Linked DNA regions of Homo sapiens: region 1 is linked to region 2. Evidence: promoter capture Hi-C in human tissues and cell types (Jung and others, 2019). All regions are on one chromosome and are shown on one strand. Each heading gives the region's core, a stretch centred on a gene start or on the middle of the fragment in contact. The rest is flanking DNA. Distances are from core to core; before and after follow the strand shown. Region 1 has its middle 15 kb from the start of ZNF100. Region 2 holds the start of ZNF91 (zinc finger protein 91).

The links. The method cuts DNA at HindIII sites, captures the fragments that hold promoters and counts their contacts. A contact is called where the count stands out against the background at its distance.
Region 1: a fragment that was not itself captured here is called in contact with the fragment with the promoter of ZNF91 in region 2 in 1 of the 25 tissues and cell types used here (aorta).

What each region holds. Positions count from the first base shown.
Region 1 is chr19:21,779,949-21,785,166 of GRCh38, reverse strand. No RefSeq gene overlaps it. Among named protein-coding and RNA genes, the nearest start is that of ZNF100, 15 kb to the right of the region's middle. The HindIII fragment of the contact is 6,966 bases long and covers 1-5,218 here.
Region 2 is chr19:23,393,812-23,398,504 of GRCh38, reverse strand. ZNF91 (zinc finger protein 91) reads left to right here and starts at 3,034. Exons shown (of 4, transcript NM_003430.4): 1 at 3,034-3,180. The coding sequence starts at 3,151. RefSeq lists an enhancer at 2,764-3,632. The HindIII fragment of the contact is 10,945 bases long and covers 1-4,693 here.

The DNA of each region.
Region 1 (5,218 bases), core at 1,179-3,678, 1.6 Mb after region 2:
TACTTCTGTCTTGCATTTCCACCTGGAAATATGCCTTTCAGTATCAGTTTTGAATTGTCAATGTTTCTGCCATTTTGCTAAGATCATTCCCTTCCTTAATCACAAAACTGTGCGAAACCATAAGAAACCTCTGGTAGGGTCATTGTTCCCATAGACCTTTTTTTCAAGATATGCTCAGATTCCCTAAGACAAAAATGGGAAGTAAAGCATTTGAGGAGAAGAATATAAATGATTTACAACAATATTCACTTTGAAAACAGAGCCAGACTTACAAAGAAATGGTATCTTTTTTTTCTTTTTTTTTTTTTTTTGAGACGGAGTTTTGCTCTTGTTGCCCAGGCTGGAATGCAATGGCGTGATCTCAGCTCACCACCATCTCCGCCTCCCAGGTTCAAGTGATTCTCCTGCCTCAGCCTCCCAAGTAGCTGGGATTACAGTCATGCATCACCAAGCCTGGCTAATTTTTTGTATTTTTAGTAGAAACAAGGTTTCTCCATGTTGGTCAGGCTGGTCTCCAACTCCCGACCTCAGGTGATGCACCTACCTCAGCCCCCCCAAGTGCCGGGATTACAGGTGTGAGCCACCATACTTGGCTGAAATGTTTTTAATAATTTAAAGACACTAGAAATCAAGGTGTTATCCAGGAATATAAATTGTTTAAATTATTTAACCTTTTTGATATATTAACTTAGATGTCAGGGGTTTCTGGAATTCAATTCTAGTAATTTCAGATATTTAACAACTTTATCTGCATCATTAATTTAATTTTACAACTTTATCTGCACCATTAATTTAATTTTTGCAAGTTTGTGACTTGTGATTCTTTTTTGCCAAATAAGTTAATGTCTTCTATATTCTATAATAGAAATAAATTTTAGAGTCATAAAATATGTCTAGAAAAAGGGTCTGTTTCAAATTCTTTCTCACTAGTAGTTTATCAGAAAGTTGTAATTAAGATATCAGTGGGACATCTAGGAAATACTGATGTTACATTTACAGAGAAAGTAAACAAGCAATTGCTCTGGTGGGTTCAGATAATCCCTAAATTATCTAGTTTAATCTGGTGTACTTAAAGATATCCTGGCTGCAGAAAATCTGGTTGAATTTGCATGAGTGTAAGAATGTGAGGATGTGTGTGTGCCTGTTTGTATATACATGTTTGCATAGTGGGAAAGTTTAGAATGAAAATCAAGTTCTGATGCAAAAGAATTAATGTCACAGATATTCATTAAAAAGTAATCTCTCTGTCATTCTGCTATTAGTGAGTATGCATTCTGTCCACACAAGCCTGTTTTTTGCTTTCTGAGGTTGCCGCAGGCCATTTCAGCTTTTCTGATTCAGTTGCTTCTAGTGATTGCAGATATCTTCCACTGCAGAAAATTGCAATTTATTAGTTCCTATTCTGTTTCCTAGACTCATCTACATAGAGAGAGTACTAAAAGATTCAGTTTTAAAAAGTTTTTATGCACATCAAAAATATTATTCCTCTTTTGTAACTCGTTCATGTCTATGTCTATTATTTGCATCAGGTAATGACTCAAACATTTCTCAAAATCTAGGAAGTTTACTATATTTCTCTTAAAGTTGGCTTATTTAGGGACTATAAGGTAATAAAATTCAGTAAGAATAGAGCTAGAACTACTAAAATTAGTCAGGACTATTAGATAATCTATTAAATTCTACGTTAATCTCGAGATAATTATGTATTTCAAATTTTACTCTAAAAAAGTACTGTAGATGGGGCGCGGTGGCTCACACTTGTAATCCCAGCACTTTGGGAGGCCGAGGCAGGCAGATCACGAGGTCAAGAAATCGAGACCATCCTGGCCAACATGGTGAAACCCCATCTCTACTAAAAATACAAAAATTAGCCTGGCACAGTGGTGCATGCCTGTAATCCCAGCTACTGAGGAGGCTGAGGCAGAAGAATCGCTTGAACCCGGCAGACGGAGGTTGCAATGAGCTGAGACCGCACCATTGCACTTCAGCCTGGGCGACAGAGCGAGACTTCGTCTCAAAAATAAATAAATAAATAAAAGCTCAGCAATTATAGGAAATGTATTTCGTATAGACTTAGAAAATTCCCATTTTTGTATGGTCTTGGGTGCCTTATTTTTTTAATTTTTTCCTTTTTTTTTTTTTTTTTTTTTTTTGAGATGGAGTCTCGCTTTGTCGCCCAGGCTGGAGTGCAGTGGTGCGATCTCGGCTCACTACGAGCTCCACCTCCCAGGTTCACAGCATTCTCCTGCCTCAGCCTCCTCAGTAGCTGGGACTACAGGTGCCCACCACCACGCCCGGCTAATTTTTTGTATTTTTAGTAGAGACGGGGTTTCACTGTGTTAGTCAGGATGGTCTCGATCTCCTGACCTCGTGATCCGCCCGCCTCGGCCTCCCAAAGTTCTGCGATTACAGGCGTGAGCCACTGCGCCCGCCCTCTAGTTTTTTTTTTTTTTTTTTTTAATATATATGACTGAAGACTGTGTGTACTTATCTGCCCTTACTGACAGAAAATCAAGAGTGCACATGAAAGCATTCTCTTGAATAAGGAAGGAAGCCTTATTTCTAATCTTCTATAGACTGAATTATGGAAGGTAAGATTAGTGAAACACTCTATGTCCAGAGCACTGAATGTCTTTCTGTCCACTGGCCACAGTAAGTTTGAATAGGTGGAGGTCAATGGTCAACACTAGGAATCAACAGGAATAATGCCAAAAATAAGGGGTCAGCTTATGAGAGATTAGATGACAAAATATGGCTTGAACTGACTCAGCAAGTATTACAAACTTTAGCAACTGATGCCCACTGACACTTAACAATAACACGGACTGGTGGCTGGGCATGGTGGGTCACGCCTGTATCGAACACCTGAGTTCAGGAGTTTGAGACCAGCCTGACCAACACGGAGAAACCCCTAATATACAAAATACTAAAAACACAAAATTAGCCAGGCATGGTGGTGGGCGCCTGTAGTCCCAGCTACTCAGGAGGCTGAGGCAGGAGAATTGCTTGAACCCAGGAGGTGGAGGTTTCGGTGATCCGAGATCAAGCCATTGCACTCCAGCCTGGGCAACAAGAGCAAAACTCCATCTCAAAAAAAAAAAAAGAAAGAAAGAAAGGCCAGGCGCAGTGGCTCACGCCTGTAATCTTAGTACTTTGGGAGGCCGAGGCGGGCAGATCGCCTGAGGTCAGTTCAAGACCAGCCTGACCAATATGGTGAAACTCCGTCTCTACTAAAAATACAAAAATTAGCCATGCATGGTGGCAGGCACCTGTAATCCTAGCTACTCAGGAGGTTGAGGCGGGAGAATCGCTTCAACCCTTGAGGCGGAGATTGCAGTGAGCCAAGGTCGCACCACTGCACTCCAGCCTGGGCGACAGAGCGAAACTCCGTCTCAAAAACAAAAAAAAAAAAAAGAGAAAAAAAAGAAAAGAAAAAAAGAAGGCCTAGTGACTATAAGAATCTTTATATTAGTATTTATTTATTATGTTGTTTATATATTTATTAATTATGTGTATTATGTTGTTTATATTAATTATGTAGTTTATGTTTTTAGCAAGAACATTGAGTCTGCACATGTGTGCACAAGTTCACATTTTAAAACAACAGAGAACATTAAAACAAAAAATCTTTCATTAAAGTGAACCATTCCAACCTCAAAAAAGATTAAGTTAAAACATGAAACCACTCTTTATATCTTGCTTCAAATACCTCATAATTATCACAGAGATTGTAGAGAGCACCTGTTTTGTTTAATAAAATATAAGCATATAAGTTTAAGATAGTCTGGGGCAAAGGTAGCAGACAGTGGGAAAGTCTTCTGGATTTGTTTTTGTTTTCCACATTCTGAAAAAGTCCTATGAAATAGCAAAAAGAAAAAAAAAAAAAAAAAAAGACTTCTTAAGCTATTGCATGCAAACCCAAACCCAACAAGATATTAAAGTCAAGTGATTCCCTATGGATTCACTGAGCGGGGAGAATTTCAGTACCAGTTGTCTAGGTTTCAGATTAAGTCATGGGCTCAGTGAGTGAATTCATGGTATTAGCTCTGTGTGTGTACACAGGATGCTGTCATTGCATCACTGTGAGGACACAGATGGCAGCATCAGTCATATATATATTGGGGCTCTTATAATACTGTTATAACCATGGGTGTGCAAATATTACTTCTAGTTCCTGCTTTGCATACATAGGCTTTTTCTGTATAATGTTCAGAGAAAGAGAGCTTTTTTTTTTTTTTTTTAATTTAAATATTGAGTTTTCTGAACCATTTGTTGGAGAGTCAGTTTTTCTCCCCATTGTTTGGTCATGATAATGGCCATGCAATGCCAAGCTGGAGCTACTGCTTTGTCCATTTCTGGAGCACCCAGTCCGTGAGTGCCTTCAGATTTGCCCCAGTGCCCCTGCCTGAGGTGTGAAATGGTGGCAACTTCTGGCACCTGTTATTGCCTGACCCATGGAGCTCCCAGCCCTGCTGTCCCCTCTGTCCTGGGTATCCTGTGCCTGGAGGTCTGGTCACTCCTGCTTCCACAGCACGCCTCCTATTCTGGCTCCTTCAACTCCCTTCCTCCTAGTTCTCATGGTCGGGCACCTGGCTTCTTAGAGATGCAGAAGCAGCATGGCACCTTGGGTTCTGAACAGGGTGAGCAGATGCAGAAAATGGGGGCAAATAATATTTTGTAATATGTTAGAGAATATTTATTAAATATTAAGCCAACACTTATTTTGTGAAAAAATATTACTTGATTATGGTATGTAATTTTTTTTTTTTTTTGAGACAGAGTCTCACTCTGTTGCCCAGGCTGGAGTGCAATGGCGTGATCTAGGCTCACTGCAACCTCCCCCTCCCGGGTACAAGCCATTCTCTTTCACCAGCCTCCCAAGTTGCTGAGATTACAGGTGCACACCTCCACATTCAGCTAATTTTTGTATTATTATTATTATTATTTTTTAGTAGAGACAGGGTTTCACCATGTTGGCTAGGCTGATCTCGAACTCCTGGCCTCAAGTGATCCACCTGCCTCGGCCTCCCAAAGTGCTGGGATTACAGGCCTGAGCCCCAACGCCCGGCCTGCAATCTTTTTTTTTTTTTTTTTTTTTTTTTTTTTTTTTTTTGAGACAGAGTATCTCAGGTGGCTCATGCCTGTAATCCCAGCACTCTGGGAGGCTGAGGTGGGCAGATCACCTGAGGTCAGGAGTTCGAGGACCAGCCTGGCCAAT
Region 2 (4,693 bases), core at 1,785-4,284:
TAGAAAAGGTCTCTGTCACCCAGAATAGAGTGAAGTGGCTCAATGAGGGCTCACTGCAGCCTCGACTTCTGGGCTCATGCAATTTTCCTCCCTCAGCCTCCTGAATAGCTGGTACTAAATGTGCAGGCTACCATGCTCAGTTAATTTTTAAATTTTTTTTAGACATGTGTTTTTGCCATGTTGCCCAGGCTGGTCTCAAATTCCTGGGCTTAAACAGTCTTCATTACTTGCTCCCCCAAAGTGCTGGGATTATAAGCATGAGCCAACATGCCTGACTATAATTTTTTTATTTTATTTTACTTTTTATTTTTTGAGACGGAGTCTCACTCTGTCAGCAGGCTGGAGTGCAGTGGTGCGATCTCGGCCCACTGCAACCTCTGCTTACTGGGTTCAAGTGATTCTCCTGCCTCAGCCTCCTGAGTAGCTCAGACTACAGGAGCACGCCACCATGCCTGTCTAATTTTTGTATTTTTTAGCAGAGACAGGGTTTCACCATATTTGCCAGGCTGGTCTTGAATTCCTGACCTCATGATCCACCCACCTCAGTCTCCCAAAGTGCTGGGATTACAGGCGTGAGCCACTGCACCCAGCCCAGAATCTTTAATATGTTATAAAAAAGCTAACTATATTTAGATTCGTTTACAGAAAATTAAAAAAAAAATCTTTTATTAAATGTTAGAAGCAAATTTTTGATGCCGCAAAGGAAATAGTACTTGAATGTAAATTTTCTCAGCAAGACAATATTTACTTTTATAGAAGGGTGCATCTTGCGAATGGAGCAATGGCAAGAGCACACCTGAACAAGGGAGGGAAAGGAGTTCTTAGCCCTGATGCAGGTAGCCCCTACTGCTGTGTCATTCCCCTATTGGCTAGGGTTGGACTGCACAGTCTAAGCTAATTCCCATTGGCTATTTTAAAGAGAGGAGGAGTACAAGCCAGAGTGGTGGGGTGAGCAGTTTGGGTGGGAACTACTGTTATGGAACAGGTGACCAAGGTGACTCAGGTCAGAGCAGGTGACCAGGGGTGACTCAGGATGGAGCAGGTGACCAGGGGTACAGATGTAAACTACTGATTAGAACTGGCGGGAAGGTTGTTTACTAAAACTGGAGACAAAAACAACAAAGAAGTTAAACTTTAAAATGGAGAATGAAGAACAGGGAGCTGAATATACTGACATACTGATTCTTTGAAGAGCAATTTAGAACTCACTGTATTTAACATTAAAATATATAAATGTTTTTTATCTACAAATATTAATATAAAACAGTTCAAAATTACTTCCTAGGGATTTCACTAAAAATTAGTTTGTTAAGGGTTAATGTAATTAATAAAAGACCACTAGATGTAAAAAAACTAATTCTTCAAAGAGAATGTTTAAGGCCAGGTGTTGTGGCTCACGCCTTGTAATCCCAACACTTTAGGAGGCCGAGATAGGCAGATCATTTTGAGCTTAGGAGATCGAGACCAGCCTGAGCAACATGGCAAATTCCAGTCACTACTTCAAATAAGGAAATAAACCGGGCATGATCGCGCACGCCTGTAATCCCAGCTACTCCAGAAGCTGAGGCTGGAGAATCGCTTGAATCTGGGAGGTGGAGGTTGCAGTGAGCTGAAATCATGCCACTGCACTTCAGCCTGGGTGACAGAACAAGCTTCTCTCTTGGAAATTAAAAGAAAATAGAGAGAGTATAAACAAAAGCAAAATATGCTTTTGATGAAGAAAGTTAGAAACATTTGTCTGCTTTGAAATTACTTAAAGGTTCCTTCAAATTGAAAAAGTAAAAATAATGTAGATTAAAATGAAATATAAAAAGTTAAACAATGGACCGGCATCATGGCTTACCCATGTAATCCCACTACTTTGGGAGGCTAAGGCAGGTGGATCACCTGAGGCCAGGAGTTCGAGACCAGCCTGGCCAACATGGTGAAACCGCATCTCTACTAAAAATACAAAAAATTAGTCAGGTGTGGTGGTGCACCTGTCATCCCAGCTACTCCAGAGGCTGAGGGAGGAGAATCCCTTGGACCTGAAAGGCAGAGGTTGCAGTGAGCCGAGATCGTGCCGCTGGACTTCAGCCTGGGCCACAGAGCAAGACTCAGTCTCAAAAAAAAAAAATTAAAAAATTATAAGAGATCATAAAATATGTATAAAAATCTAGAGAGGTCAAAAAAATTTTAATGTATTTTTATTTTTATTTTTTGCTGGGGTGCAGTGGCATGATCTCAACTCACTACAACCTCCGCCTCCCGGGTTCAGGCGATTCTCCTGCCTCAGCCTCCGGAGTAGCTGGGATTACAGACGTGTGCCACCATGCTCAGCTAATTTTTATATTTTATTTTTCATTTTTTTGAAATGGAATTTCACTCTTATTGTTCAGTCTGGAATGTATTGGCGCGATCTAGGCTTACTGCAACCTTGGCCTCCCGGGTTCTAGCAATTCTCCTGCCTCAGCCTCCCGAGTAGTTGGGATTACAGGCACGCACCACCATGCTCAATAATTTTGTATTTTTAGTAGAGATGGGGTTTCACCATGTTAGCCAGACTGGTCTCGGACTCCTGACCTCAGGAGATCCACCTGCCTCGGCCTCCCAAAGTGTTGGGATTACAGGTGTGAGCCACGGCGCCCGGCTGAGAGACTTACAATGTTTTATCAAATTAGCTTTATTATTGATAATACACAATAAAGTAAAAGTTGATTTTCTCTGGAACAAAAATTTTATGTATTATTAATATACATCAAATATTTTTGTTCACATTTTGAATACATTGAAAGAGAGCAAAGAAGAGAGAGGATTTTCCCATGCTCTGAGGTGGGCCTGGCTGAGCTGAGGAAGCCCTGCCTGAAAAGGCTGCAGCCTACGCTGTCACTCTTTCTTCATTCAGCCCAGTGTCTGATCACATCTTCTGTCACTCAGGGCCTGAGAAGGCGGGGCCTTAAACGTTATCTAATCAGGGACGCTGGGCTGGGAACTGTCCAATCAGGCACAAAGCTGGAGCGGACAGGGCGGCTTCCGGGATGTGGCTGGGCCTTTGTCTCTCGCTGCCGCCGGAGTTTCCAGGTCTCGACTTCACTGCTCTGTGTCCTCTGCTCCAGGAGGCCCAGCCTGTGTGGCCCTGTGACCTGCAGGTATTGGAGAGCCACAGCTAAGATGCCAGGAACCCCTGGAAGCCTAGAAATGGTGAGACTGCCAGGTGCGACGTCCCGAGAGAGGGAACGGGGCTCGTTGAAACCGGTGGGATGCGGCTGTGGCGAGCCTCAGGCCTTCCTTCAGTCAGCTCCACAATCCGTGCCCGGGTTCTCCTTGCCCAGCTCGGCCTCAGTCCCCTTCAGCGATAAGATGGCGGCTGCGTTGACAGGCGGGCTCCGGGCGTCCTGTCTCTTCCCTGCCCAGTGACTGTGTCCTGGCCTGGAGCCCTCTCTGGGCAGCTCTGCTCCCGCAGCGCCGCGTCTCTCCCAGATTGTGCAGGGATCACGGGAGGGTCGTCAGGGGAGAATCCTGACTGGAGGTGCTGGCTCATGAATAGGAAGCACTTTAGTCCGTGGGGTTCCCAGGGCCTCTTTTTTTCTATTAAAAATTTATGGGCGTCACCGCGAAAAGATTAAATAATTTAATCAAAGAGTGATTCAAACATTGTAGAGCACCCAGCTATGGTTTGTAATTTGTGGTCTATGAAAGGCCTTGAAGGAGATATTTTTATAAGGTTCATGGTAAAGAAAACCAAATTCAGTAATTTGCTAGGTACAGTTATGTAGGTTTTGTTTTGTTTTGTTTTTTGAAAAGGAGTTTTGCTCTCTCGCGCGGGCTGGAGTGCAGTGGCGTGATCTCGGCTCACCGCAACCTCTGCCTTCCGGGTTCAAGCGATTCTCCTGCCTCAGCCCTAGTAGCTGGGATTACAGGCGCCTGCCACCACACCAGGCCAATTTTTTTATTTTTCGGAGAGACGGGGTTTCACCTTGTTGGCCAGGCTGGTCTGGAACTCCTGACCTTAGGTGATCCACCCACCTTGGCCTCCGAAAGTGCTGGAATTACAGGCGTGAACCACCGCACCTGGCCTAGTTTCTTAATTTTTACAATCTAGGTGGAAATATCCTTCTTATGTAATCAGAGCTTAATTGGCAGTTTATAGTTGCTTAAGCCTAAATTTTGCTTCTGCCAATGTAGTAATTTACCAAAAAATGCTCTTGAGTTTAGATTTTTATTTTTAGAAGTAGAAATCCGAGGACTAGAGCCACCTCAATCTAATTGCCTGCCACTTAATTTTTCTCACACTCAAAAGGGGACGATTTTTCCCTGAATTTTTTACATGTGTCTCAAGCAGGGCCTCAAGTCCACCCCTCATCCCCTGTTCCTCCAGCCTAACTCTGGCTTGCAGTAAAATACTAAATTTCCAGTTTCGTCTGACATTCCCAAATGCCAATTTCCCCTCCCTAATTCACTTTATCAACTATTTGTCCTGTAGTGTACATTTTGATACCGATTTTAATCATTTTTATTTTTAATTTTTGAGACAGAGCCTTGCTCTGTCACCCAGGCTGGAGTGCAGTGACGCACTAGGCTCACTACAACCTCCGCCTACTGGGCTCAAATGATTCTCCTCTCTCAGTCTCCCAAGTAGCTGGACTTACAGGTGCCCACGACCACGTCTGGCTAATTTTTGTATTTTTAGTACAGACAGGGTTTCACTATGTTG